Linked DNA regions of Homo sapiens: region 1 is linked to region 2. Evidence: promoter capture Hi-C in human tissues and cell types (Jung and others, 2019). All regions are on one chromosome and are shown on one strand. Each heading gives the region's core, a stretch centred on a gene start or on the middle of the fragment in contact. The rest is flanking DNA. Distances are from core to core; before and after follow the strand shown. Region 1 overlaps ADGRG1 (adhesion G protein-coupled receptor G1). Region 2 holds the start of CCL17 (C-C motif chemokine ligand 17).

Region 1 (2,700 bases), core at 98-2,597, 230 kb before region 2:
TCAGGATGCCATTACCAGCCTCATGTTTACAATTAGGAAGACGAGGCACAGAGAGGTTAATATACCTGTCCCAGGCCACACAGCCAGTAGAGCTGGGACAGAATCAGGCAGCCCCAGAGCCCACACCCCTAACAGCCCACCTCGTGCTGCCTCTCCTAGGGGGCAGCCTGGCTGAGGGATGGAAAAGCAAAGGTCTGGGACAGCTGGGGACAGGGTCTGCGTCTCATGAGCCCCTATGACGTGTGGCTGTCTCGGTTCATCCCCACAAAGCCGCATTTAGGTATCAGAGACTTTCACAGCCCAAGTAATGAAGTTGTGAGAAATTCAGCCGCTTGCTCTAAGTCATTTTTCAAGGATTTGAGCCTAAGTCAATGAGCCCATGACCTGGAAGATTAAACCTCCAGCTGAGGTTTAGGGAGAACCTCTTGAAGTCATGCACTGTGCTAGGTACATACTTTGCAGCCACTTTTGCCCCAAATTCCACAGCAACCCTGCAAAGGGATGTATTGTTATCTCCATTTACAGGCAGGGAAACGGGTCCAGAGAAGCTGTCATCTTTGGCAGTGGAATGCAAGTCTCCACAGCTCCTCTCAAAAGTCAGCTTTCCCCCATGGGCCTTGAGCATCCAGGCTGGGGGTACTAGGAGGACAGAGACCTGGGGACGGGAGGGGAAAGGGCCTGGGAGGTGGCAGAGGCGGCTCTCTATCTCACTGTTCCTTGTTTTGCAGTTGGTGTAAGTGGCCCCGAGTCTGGGAAGCCAAGCCAGAGCCATTCACCGCAGAACTTTTCAGGCCACCAGGGTTGGGCTGGCTCTTGGACAGCAAGGCCATCTCCCCACCGCCAGGCCATCTCCCACTAATGCAGAGAGGCCTGTCCACCGGTGCCCGGAAGCATGCCAGCTCCTCCGGGGCTGAGCTTTTATCTCTGCCTGGAACTGCCAAGCATACCACAAACTGCCTGAGCCTGCGCAGGCGCCAGCTCGGGAGCCCGACGCCCACCACACTGGCCTCCTCACCAAAGCACGAGTCAGGCTGGAGGTGGGTGAGTGAGCGCCACTGGTGTCCAGGTGGCCGCAGCTCTCCCAGCAGTAGCGGGGGCAGGGAGAAGTGCTCACAGTTATTTCAGGTTATCTCTGGGCCTCAATACAGCCATCTGTCCAATGGGAGAGGTATTAAAAAAAGGCTTAACATTCCCACGTATGGGAAAGGCACTTTCCCATATGCTTTCCTCTATCAACTCTCTTCATGCTCATAATAGCCTCTGAAGCAGATGTGATTGTGATCCACAGTTTACAGATGAGGAAACCGAGGCACAGGCCCATGTTCCCACAACCAGAGAGAAACAAAGCCAAGATTCTCCCTGGGCAAGCCACCCTTGCTGTCTCTACGGGCCCTGTCACCCTACAGGTGCGTGGATTTGGCAGTGGCAGGGGCAGGGTTCAAGACACGAGCATGTGCCTGGCTGGCTGAGGAGCCTCCTCTCCACCAAGGGACAAGAGCCCAAATTCTGGATCCCCAAAGATGTGGGGTTGCTCACTGGGTAAGCCTCCCCTGCCTCAATGTCCTCATCTGAAAAGTGGGTGTCGTGTGCAAGGCACTGAGCCCAGGGCCTGGCAGAATCTGAGGTCAGGGAAGGTCCAGGATTGCTCCCATCCAGGCTGAGCCATCAGGGAACCAGGGAGAGTTTGGGGCTTAGCTGACCTCCTGCCAGGGCAGGCTGGCACTGGGCAGTGGTCAGAAAATGTGTGTCCCTTCCTACTCCCCAACCCTTGGCCCCTCTACCCAGCAGTCCAGACCTAAGACCAGAATCTACAGGGCTCCCCTGGGGGCCTCAAGGAGCCCCAGATGGGGCACCAGAGACAGGAGGAGGGGCAGGGTCTCAGCCAAGTGACGGCTCAGGAGAAAGGAGGCCTGGGAGGCTGAGGCCGTGCCACAGCCCCGCCCCACCCGGTTTGAGAGACCCCTTTGTGCCAGCCCGCCCCGCCCCCCATTTGCCATCTGCCCAGTTGCTGTGTCTGGTCACCCCTGACTGCTGGGTTTGCTCACATGATGTCCCCATCTGCTGTGAGTCAGAAGGCGGGGTCCACAGGGCCACCCCCAGCATGGGGACGGGGGCTGAGCCCTGATCAAGCTCCAGTCTGGGAGGAGGAGGTGGTGCTGGGGTTTGGGGCTCTGTTGTCACACTCCCCTCTCCTCCCTACTTCCACCCGACTTCCCCACGGCCTCCTCCATGGCCTCCCTGGGAGCCCTGCCACATGGAAGCCCATCCTGCATCCCTGAAATGGCACAGCCCCCCAGACCCCACCTGCACACAGCTTCTGCACAGGATGGCGGAACCCGCATCCCAGTCCGGCTGGAGGACGGTCCGCAGTGGTCCCTCCATGGCTGTCCTGCCCACTCCTCTTACCTGCCTTTGTCATGCTGGGCCTTGCCAGGAGGCCAACCCCTACACCAACCCTGCTGCAGCTCTGCCACCTCTCTCCTGTCCTTCCCCTCGACTGGGCGCCACCTCCCCCTCGTCTCCCTCACACGTGAAGCTGCTCCCAAGCTTGAGCCTTAACCCAGCAGCCAGAGACTGGGACTGCCTGGCCAACCTCACACTGAACACCCATCCTGGCCCTCCCCGTCCTGCTGGGTTTGCAGCCTGGGCCCCCAGCCCCACACAGCACCTGCCTGGCGAGTCCTCCTGCCTCTCTTCCCC
Region 2 (2,700 bases), core at 109-2,608:
TGCCTCAAGCAACCTTCCCTTCCTCCCTGACATCATCTACCCCAGATCTTTTACCTCTGGATAAAGACTTCTTTTTTTTTTTTGAGACGGAGTCTTGCTCTTTCGCCCAGGCTGGACTGCAGCAGCGCTATCTCGGCTTACTGCAAGCTCCACCTCCCGGGTTCACGCCATTCTCCTGCCTCAGCCTCCCAAGTAGCTGGGACTACAGGCGCCCGCCACCATGCCCGGCTAATTTTTTTTTTTTTTTGTATTTTTAGTAGAGACGGGGTTTCACCGTGTTAGCCAGGATGGTCTCGATCTCCTGATCTCGTGATCCACCTGCCTCGGCCTCCCAAAGTGCTGGGATTACAGGCGTGAGCCACCGCACCTGGCCTGATAAATACTTCTTAAATCTCTGTCTCCAGCCCTGACCAGTAACTAATCAGACACACCCACCTGGACACTCCTCCTTCCGGCCCATCTTTCTGTGGCACCCCTCAGCTCTCTCTGCCTTGCAGCCTGGCCAGCTCTGTGCAGTTCTGTCCCCCACACTAACCTGTGAGCTGCTGGGAAGCAGAAGTCTGTCCTGCTATGGTTCACTCAGCCCCAGGTACCAGAAGGGCAAAACCGAGTTCCCTCTCACACCAGCCTCCTTTTTTTCTGTTCAAGCCAGCATTGTTTCCCATCTCCCCATCTGCCCCCAAGTCTGAAACTTTGCCCTTGACTCATTCCTCGCCTCCATCCCCCACATTACATCAGGCAGAGACTCTGCCCAGCGCTGTCTTCAGTGGGAGCTTGGCTTCCTTGCTTCCTTCTCATCTCCACTGGCTCAGCCCTCATCCTTCACACCCAGAGAGTCTCAAAAACTTCTGGGCCTATTTCTTCCTCTCTGGTCTCTCCTGACACCTCCCTCATCAGCTGCATGCCCACATGTGGTGGATCTTTCACAAGGGCTGCCCTGACCATGTAATGCCCCCTTCCTCCAAAACCGTCAATGGCTCCCTGCTTCCTTCCCCATCCAGTCAAAACTTTTCAGGCCAATCTTGAAGCTGTACCTTCCATCTAGCCCCTCCTTCCTATTCAGTCTCATCTCCCTGCTCCCCAACATTGAGCTTTCTTGAGGGCCAGTGCGTCCCCTCACTTTGTGACTTGGTTTGCTGCTTCCAAACTCCTGTCCCCTTCTTGTATGGATTATCTTCCCTTGATCCAAAGTCCATCCACCGCTCATCTAACACATGCCCTGAAAGATCCAGCGAGGGGGTCACCTCACAGTGGAGGGGTTAGGAGCAAAGACTCTAGGTCAGGTCACCTGGTTTTGAATTCAGCTCTCCCATCAGCAGGCGGTGACACTGTGAGCTCAAAGTCACTTCTCTCTGAGCCTCAGTTTCTACAGCTGCAAAATGAAAATAATAACAATAATTACATTAGAAGGCTTTGGTTTGCATCAACTGCCTTACTGCTTATATCTGGCAAATAGTACACGTTTCTGACTTTAAATATCATCTATATGCCAACCACTCCCAAGTTTCTCTCGCAAACTCCAGCCTCCTTCTACGTCCAGCTGCCTACTCGCCATACCAAATAGGCAGCTCCAACCCCCCAAGTCTGAAGCTGAATTTCTGATTCCCACCCACCCCTACACCTGCTCTCTCCTCCTTCTCTGCCAGCCCCTTCCTTCCGGTTACTAGGGCCAGAAACCTGGGCGCTATCCCTGACGCCTCTTCCTCTCGCCCCCAACTTCCCATCTGTTGGGTGAGCTCATGTCTCTGCTTTCCAAATACACCCAGAAACCAGCATCAATCCCTGGCTTCCTACAACTGCCTTCTGGGTGCTCTCCCTGTCTCCATCCTTGCCCCCTACAGTGTATTCTCAGCACAGCAGCAGAGGGACCATGAATCTCCCGTGTTCAGAACGTCCCCGTGGCTCTCCACCTCACGCAGAGGACAAGTCCAAGACCCTCCAGCAGCCACGAGGCCCCGCGAGTTCTGTGCCCTGCTCTCTGCCCACCTGTATCTCCTGGTTCCCTGGTTCACTCTGCCCCAGCCACCCTGGCCTCCTCCCTATGCCTCAAACCAACCAGACAGACATGCTCCTTCCTGAGGAGGTTTGCACGGACTGTTCTTTCAGCCTGGAATGTTGTCCCCAGATACCTGCAGGACTCACTCCTTCACCTTTTTCAAACTTTTTTAGGCCGGGCGTGGTGGCTCACGCCTGTAATCCCAGCACTTTGGGAGGCCGAGGCAGGTGGATCACTTGAAGTCAGGGGTTCGAGACCAGCCTGGCCAACATGGTGAAATCCCATCTCTACTAAAAATACAAAAATCAGCTGAGCGTGGTGGCAGGTGCCTGTAGTCCCAGGTACTTGGGAGGCTGAGGCAGGAGAATCACTTGAACCCAGGAGGCAGAGGTTGCAGTGAGCCAAGATCACACCACTACACTCCAGCCTGGGCAACAGAGCAAGACTCTATCTCAAAAAATATATATATATATATATTATATATATTTATAATATATATAATATATATTATAAATATATATTATATATATTATAAATATATATTATATATATTATAAATATATATTATATATATATAAAATATATATTTATAATATATATAACATATATATAATATAATATATATATTATAATATATATATTATTATATAATATATATAATATAATATATATTATAATATAATATATATATTATAATATATATT

The links. Contacts are between HindIII fragments. The study calls those that stand out against the background at their distance.
Region 1: a fragment that was not itself captured here is called in contact with the fragment with the promoter of CCL17 in region 2 in 1 of the 25 tissues and cell types used here (spleen).

What each region holds. Positions count from the first base shown.
Region 1 is chr16:57,630,974-57,633,673 of GRCh38, reverse strand. All of the region lies in intron 1 of ADGRG1 (adhesion G protein-coupled receptor G1), which reads right to left. Among named protein-coding and RNA genes, the nearest start is that of ADGRG1, 3.7 kb to the right of the region's middle. RefSeq lists an enhancer at 1,928-2,583. The HindIII fragment of the contact is 6,695 bases long and covers 1-2,700 here.
Region 2 is chr16:57,403,425-57,406,124 of GRCh38, reverse strand. It overlaps CCL17 (C-C motif chemokine ligand 17), which reads right to left and starts at 1,358. Exons shown (of 4, transcript NM_002987.3): 1 at 1,289-1,358. The HindIII fragment of the contact is 13,083 bases long and covers 1-2,700 here.